Linked DNA regions of Homo sapiens: region 1 is linked to region 2. Evidence: promoter capture Hi-C in 16 types of primary human blood cells and fetal thymus (Javierre and others, 2016). All regions are on one chromosome and are shown on one strand. The core of a region is centred on a gene start or on the middle of the fragment in contact, and the rest is flanking DNA. Distances in the headings are between cores, read along the strand shown. Region 1 has its middle 5.0 kb from the start of CEBPE. Region 2 holds the start of CDH24 (cadherin 24).

What was found. Contacts are between HindIII fragments. The CHiCAGO score rates a contact against its expected background, and 5 or more counts as called.
Region 1: a fragment that was not itself captured here is called in contact with the fragment with the promoter of CDH24 in region 2 in 3 of 17 cell types (M2 macrophages, M0 macrophages and M1 macrophages); the score reaches 9.0 in M2 macrophages.

The regions. Positions count from the first base shown.
Region 1 is chr14:23,111,851-23,116,694 of GRCh38, reverse strand. No RefSeq gene overlaps it. Among named protein-coding and RNA genes, the nearest start is that of CEBPE, 5.0 kb to the left of the region's middle. RefSeq lists enhancers at 730-1,929, 2,095-2,813. The HindIII fragment of the contact is 3,584 bases long and covers 1-3,574 here.
Region 2 is chr14:23,054,330-23,059,077 of GRCh38, reverse strand. It overlaps CDH24 (cadherin 24), which reads left to right and starts at 1,558. Exons shown (of 13, transcript NM_144985.4): 1 at 1,558-1,675; 2 at 3,221-3,545; 3 at 3,725-4,019; 4 at 4,212-4,331; 5 at 4,405-4,572. The coding sequence starts at 3,345. It overlaps ACIN1 (apoptotic chromatin condensation inducer 1), which reads left to right. Exons shown (of 19, transcript NM_001386863.1): 19 at 1-514. LOC105370705 (collagen alpha-2(I) chain-like) reads right to left here and starts at 1,418. Exons shown (of 2, transcript NR_169511.1): 1 at 1,036-1,418; 2 at 429-793. RefSeq lists silencers at 1,329-1,478, 1,559-1,678. The HindIII fragment of the contact is 16,339 bases long and covers 1-4,748 here.

The sequences.
Region 1 (4,844 bases), core at 533-3,032, 57 kb before region 2:
GTGCATGGGACAGGAATCGGTTGGGAAAGACCTGGAGACCGGATTTGTGTATGAGAACACTGGTAGTGAGAAGGAGGATGACAATCTGCCCGTGCCAGGGAAACCCATCATTCGAAACAGCATTTTCTTTTGCATTGGACTACAGCCTAAGAGACAGAATGGTACAATAATTAAGAGCCTCAGTTTGAATCTTACACTGCTACTTACTAGCTGTGAGCCTTGAGCCATTATGTCTTTCTGTGCCTCAGTTTCCTCATCTGCAAAATGGTTGCAATATTTGTCCCCACTCCGTAGTGTTGTTATATTCATAGAAAAAGAAAACTTTGCATGTAATAAGCATATTTATTATGATTCCTCCATTTTGCTGGAACTGAAAGGACCTCAGAGATCTCATCTAAACTCATTTTGCAGGTAAGAAAACAGGCTGCAAAGAGGGGAAGGGACTTACCTGGAGTCACACGATTGTTTAGAGGTAGAACCAAAATTGGCTCTGTAAAATCGCAGATCTCAAGATGTGCTGGGAGAGACCTCAAGAGATCATCTGGTGGGCTCTGCCCTCAGACCAGCAAGGTAGGGTGAGCCACATTTTACAGATAAAGCAGTTGAGGGCCAGAGGGGTAAGAGGCTTCTCCTGACACTCACTGAGTCCCTTTGCTGCCTCAGTACGTGGTACCTGTCTCTCTACTCCACGCTACACTCTTCTCACAGATCCTCAGTACGAGTGTCACATGAATCACATTCAATAAAGAACAGTGCCCAACAGTGTCAGGGACCCAGGGACAGATTACGGGCTTCTTAAAGTCTCTCCTAAGCCAATGCTGTGAAAGGCTGAGTCAGACATCAAGGAATAATTTTCTGAGAAGGTGAGAGACTGGTGTCTGGATCATCCCAGATCTCTCTCCCTTCTTCAAATCTCCAGCGGTAGAGCCCTCCCACACCTCGGGCATCCGTGTGCGGCATGTCTACCTTGCCCAGGACTCAGTCCTTTTCCTGCCTTTGCCTCTGTGTCTCTCGGGCACCTCTGTGTCCTGGAGGCCCGTGCCCCAGGTCTGGTTTGGAGGGAGAGATCTGAACCTTCAGTGGAGGGACCGACTGGAGCTTCCTGAGTTCAGAAGGAGGGGAGGTACCAGTCTCTGTGGGCACCTGGGAGAATCCTCACACCTTCCTTTCAGCCCAGGGGGATAGGTTGCATAAGGGGGGTTTGTACAGAACATGGTAAATGACTCAACCTCCGGATTTCCTCCTCTCAGCTCAAGACCACTGTCCCTTGACTTACTTTCAAGGTTCTGGGTGATGGGACCTGGGTTGCTTCAGCATGAAGCCCAGGCTTTGTTCCCACAGCTCTGAATTGCTTCTCCTCTCAGGCCCCCGCTCACCCAGTCAGGTCCTCAGGGCCGGTGCCTAGTGGAGCCTTCCTGACTGGCACCCAGTCTGGGGGAGTCACATCCCCGTCTCCCCACTGTGATCCCAGCGTGACGTGCAGCAGCTGAACACATCCCAATCCTCTGCATCAGATCATATTCCAGGGGTGTGAGTCAGAGCCAGAGGGCACACTTCCTGAAAGAGGCTTTCAATCTGACCTCAATTGGTTTTGGCCAACGTAACTTATTCAACAAGTATTTGTTGAGTATCTTTTCTAGGAATGAGACAAGTTCTCAGCAGAAGGAGTAGGAAGAAAAAGTCAATAAACAAGTGTGCTGAATGTCTTCCTTTGCCCCTCCAGAACCCTCTCCACCCTTCATCACCCTACACAGTCCCCAGGTGGATGCCTCCCTACATCAACCAGCCTCTCATGGGGTGGGGGTGAGACTGGCAGGAGGAGAGTGGTGGGAGCCCCCTGCTGACCGGCGCTCTCCACAGTCCCTCCCAAAGGATTCCTGGCCCTCAGGCGCCCCCCGTGCTGGGCTAGCCCAGGGGACTTCACCACTCCAGGAACTTTCCCCAGATACTGTTGGTTCACATCTTCATAAAGCACCTTAATTAACTTCTCCTGCTTACTCCATTTGAATAGCCCATTGGGGAAACCACATAAACCAACAGGTAGGGAGGCTATTTTAGCTGGGGTGGCCGAGAAAGGTATCTCTGAGGAAGTGACATTTTAGTTGACACTTCAAAAATTTTGAGAAGGAGGCAGGTATGTCTTTGAGTGTAAGGGTGAACAGAGGGAAGGGTAAATGCAAAAGCCCTAAGGTGACCGAGAGAAAGGAAGCCAGGAGTAGATGCTGAATGAAAGAAGGAAGGAGAGGATAAGTAAGAAAAAGATGCACCTTCCCTCCAGAATGGGGCTGCAGGGGTTGCAAATGACTATTTTCATTCCCTCTGTCAAGGAGGATGGTGCCTAAGAAGCCGGGGCAGGTGGAGAGCAGGGTTCTCTCTGCCCCTGGATTCAGCTTCCCTGCCCCTTGGTCCTCCTGGCACCTTTACCACAGTAAGGTTGTCCCCACTGGGGAAGGAGATGACAGAAAGGAGCCCAGGGAAGGGCAGTTAGCCAAACCCTGCCTGGGGAAAGGCACCAGGACCGGGGACTCGATAACGTTTGAAAACCAGCAAATCAAGGTCCAAACAGCACACGCATGCAGTCCTATTGCTTCAGCGCCCACAGCTCAGGCCCACTTTTCTTTCTGGAGCAGAACTGGGGAGCAGAATGAGACTCCTGAGCTGAGAGACAGGATCTTAGGCCACAGGGAAGCTGCAGAGGAGAAGACAGACTGTGGGGAGACACTGCAGAGGGAGGAAGCTGCCCAAGGTGAGTCTGCCAAGGTCAGTCAGCGGAGGCAGTGGCTTGTGAAAGCTGCCCCCAACCCCCCTGCTCGGTGCACACCTCCCCACCCCTCTACACAGATTGCCACATGCCTGGGCCCCCAGGGCCCCCATCCCAGTGTTGCAAGATCCCGGTTGGGGTTGTGGGTGGAAAGGGGCCTCTTCACCTCCACCCCCTGCCGTGCTCCAAGCCAGTGAGGGGACTATGGGATGAAGGGGGCTGTTCAGGAGACGCTGAGGCAACAATAGGCAGGGCTGGCTGAGAGCCTGTGCGTCTCCTCTCGGACAGGCCAGTCACTTCCCATCACCCTCACCAGCACCCCCCACCCCCCGCAGACAGACCCCTCCTCCCGACTCAGCATGAGCTGCTCCAAAATGGGAGTGGCCCAAGCTGGACAGAACCCCTGGCTGACCTCTGTCAGCTGCTTCCATAAGCAGGCCTGGCCTGGCCTCAGAAAACCTCAGTGGCATATGAGAAATTCTCCCCAAGGGGAGAGGGTGTGGGTTTTCAGAGGAAAATGGCTACAACTTAACTTTATCAAAATGGCCATCAATTCTGACTTCAGAGAGCAATGGAAAGGTCCCAGGGCCTGGGAAGGGGCAGGCTTCTTGATAGGGAAAGACCCACCACAGAGCTGTAGCCTCTTGCTTCTCTTTTATTATTTATTTATTTATGTATTTATTTTAGGTCCAGGGACAGACTAGATTTTTCCCTTAGATTTGCTTCCCTTTTAGAAGAAACAGGGTTCTAGGGGTAGGTAGAGGCAAGCCACACATAGAATGGATCCATCCCCTACGCCCCATGAGCTAAGCTTCACCCTGGAGTCCTAAACTGTCCAAACCCCTATTGCTCACCACGCCCCCCCCACCACCACCACCACACACACACCTAGCACTGTCACCCCTGGCCAGGCTATCCAACCTTGCTGCAATCGGGACGGTTTGCAAAACGCCTTCTAGCTCCCGCTTTGTCACCATCTGAGGTTAGGACTGTACTCAGGAGATAAGCTCAGGCCCCACCCGCTCGTCCCCAGCGAGACTGCTGGCCTGCTGCAATCGGGACGGTTTGCAAAACCCCTGCTGGCTGCAGCTCTGTCACCATCTGAGGTTAGGGCTGCACCCTAAGATAAAGCCTAGCTCCTCCCTCCAGCCCTGCCTTCAAACCTCACAGGCAGCATGGTCCCAAGAAACAGAGCTCCTGGGAGCCCACTCAGGGTCTGGAAGCATTACACCAGTGCAAAGACCCCTTCTCCTTGGTCCTCCCCTCACCCCTTCTCCCCTCCATCCCCAGCCTCACCTTTGCATACTGTCCTCATTACCATCCTCTCCTCACTCTCCATCTACTCACCTTCTATCTTCTATCCTCACGCTTCCATCCCTCACCTCCCTCCTGCCTTCTCACCACATTCATTTACTCAAAAAATACATACTAAACACCTACTTGAAGCCAAGCACTTTGTTATAGAAGCTATGGGACACATAAGGAGAACAGTCCCTGCCCTTTGGGGGTTTATAGATTAGTGAGAGTGACAAACATAAGACCACAAACAAATTGTGGGCAGTGTCATCTAGCAAAAGTAAAGGGGTGACTGATGGCCGATATTAACATGGGTATCTGATTTAAATGTGAGGGTCGGGAAAGGCTTCTTTGAAGGGATAACATATCGGCGGATATCTAAATGATGAGTAGGAATTCATCTGGCAAAAAGTGGGGGTTCCCAACAGAAAGAAAAGTACACACAAAGGTTCCCAAGCAGGTCCTTCTCATTCACTGACTGAAGGCTGGGGGTGCAGGGCAAGATGCTGGGAAGAGGCAGAGAGGCTTGAAGAGGCTGAGGCCAGAAGCTCCCTTAGATGGGATTCAGAGCATCAGAGGGAGAACCAGCCTTCCAAGGGAAGAAGACGTCTCCTCTTTTTTAACAAGAAACAGAGGAGATGGCAACAGAATCAAATACAAATAGGTTTGTAGCAAGCCGGGGCTGTTCCTATCTTATGGCTTTTATTTTCACCATGAAAGAAGAGATAACCAAAAGTCACTGAGCAGGAGGGGAGGCTGGAGGTTTGAAAGTATAAAATCCAGCCGG
Region 2 (4,748 bases), core at 309-2,808:
ACAGTCTCCACCACCCTGGAGCCAAGGGTCTTTCACATCACCTATCCCTACATACATACCAAATGGAAAAGTGGCCATCCTTTTCCCCCCAAACACACCCCCTTAACCTATCTCTTGGGACTTAGCCCGACCCTCCCTCTCATTTCCCATTAAGTCTGAGAGGCAAGAGCTAGGTTAGGCAAGGAGGTGGTTGGCCAGAGATGGGGAACAGCCAGGTGCCCCAGTCCTCTGATTTTTCCTCCATCCTGCTTACCACCTCCCTGGGTACTTACAGCCTTCTCTTGGGAACAGCCGGGGCCAGGACTGGGTCACCTATGAGCTGAATCAGCATCTCCTCCTGAGTCCCAGGGCCCCTGCAGTTCCCAGTCTCTTCTGTCCTGCAGCCCTTGCCTCTTTCCCACAGGTTCCACTTTATATCCACCTTTTCCTTTTGTTCAATTTTTATTTTTATTTTTTTTATTATTAAATGATGTGGTCTATGGAAAAAAAAATAAAAATCTGACTTAGTTTTAAACTGTGTGAGTGGCTTTCTTTGGGCAGGTTAAGAAGCCACTGTGGATATCTGAGCGTGGACATCTGAGGATATCTGGAGTAGGAGTTGCTCTCATTCCATGTGTTCCTTTAGGCTGACTGCTTCCTGCTTATTGAACTTCCCACGTCTTTTATCCCCTGCCTTGGCCCTGACCAACCCAAAGCTGTGGACCTTCCTCATTCGGGAAGGCATGGAGCAACCTGTGTCCGTGGCGGCACCCCAGCAGGGCTAGGAGGGTGGGTCCTCTTCTGGTTCCTGGTCCTGTGCACGGTTAAATTAGGGGTTTGGTCACCTGCCTGCCACCTTGGTGCCTCCCACAACTACCACCAGGGGGCGGCAGCTCCTCGCTCTGTTGGCCCCTGTAACCGAGCTTCCCAAGAAGGGTTCCACTGCCCGCCTCCGACCTCCCGCCGATGTCGTGCCTCTGTTCCCGACCCGCTCCCTGGGCCCGGGCCTCGGACTCTCTGGACCCTTCTGCCGTCCTTAAGTGTCCCCCAGCTGACCTGCTACCGTGCTTTGCATGGGCTCTCAAAACGCCGCCGCCTTGCAGCTGGGATTCCATCCACACCAGTCCCAAAAGCCAGCCGGGAACCGGGAGCCCGGAGCCGGGTCTCTCCGCAGTGGGCTCCGAATTCCCCACCTCACCGCGCGCTCGCCCGTTTTCCGCTGCGGGCGGGGACTGGCAGCTTCGCGCTCCCGGGTGCACCCGCCCCGCCAGCTCTTCGGAAATGGCCTGGCGCCGTGGCCTGGACGTCCTCCCGCCCGAGTGCCCTGCCGGGCGCTGCGGGCCCGGTCCGGGAGGGGCGCCGCATCTGTATGCGCCCCGCAGCCCAGGAGCGCCGAGGGGGCGGACGCGCGGCGCCGCCTCCGCCCCCGCCCCCGCCGCGCGGGCCCGGCTGGCCGGGGAGGGTCGGAGGCTGGGCTCTCCTCTCCCGCGCGGCGCGGAGCCGCCTCGCTCCTCCGCAGGCGGAGTCTTCTTCCCCCGCCCCCTCCGTCTCGCTCCCTTGTTCTCGCCGGGGCCGCTCAGACCTGCAGCGGAGCCGCGGCGCCCGCTCCAATCGGCTCGGGGCTGTGCCCCCGGGACCCGGCGACGGGGGCGGGCGGGGGCGCTTCCCGCCGGCCTGGGCCCCTCGGCAGTGCCAGGTAAGGGCGCCTGCCCCGGAGCAGGGGTCGGGAATCCGCGGAGGGGTAGGAGGGGGCCCGCAGCCTGCGGGGGTCTTCGGAGGGGTGCGCTCCGTGGCTGGGAGCCCGCTGCCGGCTCCCTTCTCCCGCGCTCTGCCTCTTTCCCTTCTCCCCTCGCACCTCTCTCCCTCTTTCTTCTCTCGATTTCTCTTCACCCTTCCTTCTCTGCCTGTTTGCCTTCCTTATCCCTTCCCTCTGTCTCCCCAACCCTTCCCTCTCCCTCTTGTCCTTTTTCCATCTCCTCTCCCTCTTTGCCTTTTTCTTTCTCTACCTTTCTCCCCTTTCCTGCCTTTCTCTTTTCTCTTTCTTGCTCTCCTTTCCCTCCCTCTCCTCTCCCCTTCCTGCTATCCTGTTTCCCACTCCTCTATCCCCTTCCTTCTCGCCTCCTCATCCCGCCTTCTCTCTGGTCCCCAGCCTTCCTCCGGTTTCCCCCTTCCCTCGGGAGCAAAGGGACTGTCAGGTGTGTGTCTGCTCTGAGGGAGGAGGGGCAGAAGCCACAGCTACCTGAGGGGTCCTCCCCCCCGCCCCTAGGAGAAAGGAGAGCAGTGGGAAGGGTCTCCTCTCTAGCTCCCTTCCCGTGGCCCCTCCCTGCCTCCACCCCTCCTGTCTGCTCCTTCTCCCAGAATTAAGTTCCCGAGGCCTGGCTTGACACCCCCGAAGCTGAGGTCTGCCCCTGCCTGCCCGGAACTGCCCCCGGTGACCCGTTTCCAAGCCTGGCCCCTAGGACTCCTCTCTGCCTTCAGACACCCAGGCTGCTGCCCTGGTCTCTCTCATTCTGTCTCTTGCCACTGTTCTGTTTCTGTCTCTCATCCAGTCATTTCTCTGCCGGACAGTCCCTGAGTCAGTCTAGCCGTCAGTCATTATCTGTCTCTAGCCTCTGGGTGGACCTCTCTCCCCGGTCACCTCCCCCTGTCCCCCACCCTGTATCCTCTTCCTTCAGCTCTGGCTCCCAACTCCTGTCTCACGAGCCCAGTCCCCCTTCAAGGACTGCACTGGCAGCGTGGGCTGGAGACAGGGCCTGGAGAGTGGGGCTCCCCCTTGTGGGGAGGGACTTTCACAGACTCTCAGCCCTGCCTGAGGCTGCACTCCTTGTCATCTCATGCTGACCCTAGACACCTTAAGGCCACACCTCCATGAATCCCAACTCCGTAATTTTAAGCCCTTTCTCTGGTAGCCCCGCCTCCTCCAATACCTGGCTACGTGCCCAACCTGGGAGGACAGAGACCAGATTTGGGATTCCAAGCCCTCCCAGCATCCCCTCTCCTGTGTTCCTCCCCAGTTCTCTACTCAGAGTTGACTGACCAGAGATTTATCAGCTTGGAGGGCTGGAGGTGAATACATGCAGAGCCTGGGTGGAGGAAGGATCAGCCTCTCTGCTCTCTGTCTTAGTCTGAGTTCTGGGCAGTGGAGTGTCTGGTTCCTTGGAGGTCTGGTCTTCAGCATCTAATTTTGCGGGGGAGGAGGGCTAGGGGTTTCCTTGAGCCTGAGCAGCTGCTTGTCCTGCAGGTGTGGATCCATGGGGTAGCCTCAACGCATCTGCCCCTCCACCCCAGCCAGCTCATGGGCCACGTGGCCTGGCCCAGCCTCAGCACCCAGGGCCAGTGAACAGAGCCCTGGCTGGAGTCCAAACATGTGGGGCCTGGTGAGGCTCCTGCTGGCCTGGCTGGGTGGCTGGGGCTGCATGGGGCGTCTGGCAGCCCCAGCCCGGGCCTGGGCAGGGTCCCGGGAACACCCAGGGCCTGCTCTGCTGCGGACTCGAAGGAGCTGGGTCTGGAACCAGTTCTTTGTCATTGAGGAATATGCTGGTCCAGAGCCTGTTCTCATTGGCAAGGTAAGGATGACCCCTCCCATGTCTACTCTGACACCAAGCCCTCAGGCCCTGCCCTGCAACTTCATCACTTCTGCAATGACCTTGGTCCCTCAGGACTCCCAACGCTCTACCCAAACCTAGACTCTTTAACCCTGTCTCTGTACTTGGAGCCCTCTGCCATCTTTTCGTGACCCCTGCAGCTGCACTCGGATGTTGACCGGGGAGAGGGCCGCACCAAGTACCTGTTGACCGGGGAGGGGGCAGGCACCGTATTTGTGATTGATGAGGCCACAGGCAATATTCATGTTACCAAGAGCCTTGACCGGGAGGAAAAGGCGCAATATGTGCTACTGGCCCAAGCCGTGGACCGAGCCTCCAACCGGCCCCTGGAGCCCCCATCAGAGTTCATCATCAAAGTGCAAGACATCAACGACAATCCACCCATTTTTCCCCTTGGGCCCTACCATGCCACCGTGCCCGAGATGTCCAATGTCGGTGAGCACCCCAGCTCTGAATGCCCCAGTTCCCGTCTTCTGGAGCTCTCTCACCTCTCCTTCCCTTCTTGTTGTCTGCCCCAGAACCTGCCCCCTTCAATTCAGCCTCCCTCGTATCTGCATCCCCCCCCATCGGTTGTTCTTCCCCATCCTTCCCTGCTGCTGCTGAATGGCGTGCTGGCATCCCCCACAGGGACATCAGTGATCCAGGTGACTGCTCACGATGCTGATGACCCCAGCTATGGGAACAGTGCCAAGCTGGTGTACACTGTTCTGGATGGACTGCCTTTCTTCTCTGTGGACCCCCAGACTGGTGAGGATGGAGCCTGGGAGCCCGGTGGGGCAGCCAAGGGGACAGACACCCTCTGACCAGCATCTCTCCCTAGGAGTGGTGCGTACAGCCATCCCCAACATGGACCGGGAGACACAGGAGGAGTTCTTGGTGGTGATCCAGGCCAAGGACATGGGCGGCCACATGGGGGGGCTGTCAGGCAGCACTACGGTGACTGTCACGCTCAGCGATGTCAACGACAACCCCCCCAAGTTCCCACAGAGTAAGGGGCCATTGCTGCCACCTGAGCCATCCTTTGATCACCCCACCCCTACAGTGTCTGGAGAAACCTTCCCTCCTCGCCTCCTCCCCAGCCAGATCCTGGGAGAATAAAGTGCTGTGGGGAGGGAGGAGGGCTGGGGACCTCTCTGAGAAGGTGTCTCCCCTCTGTCATCCCAA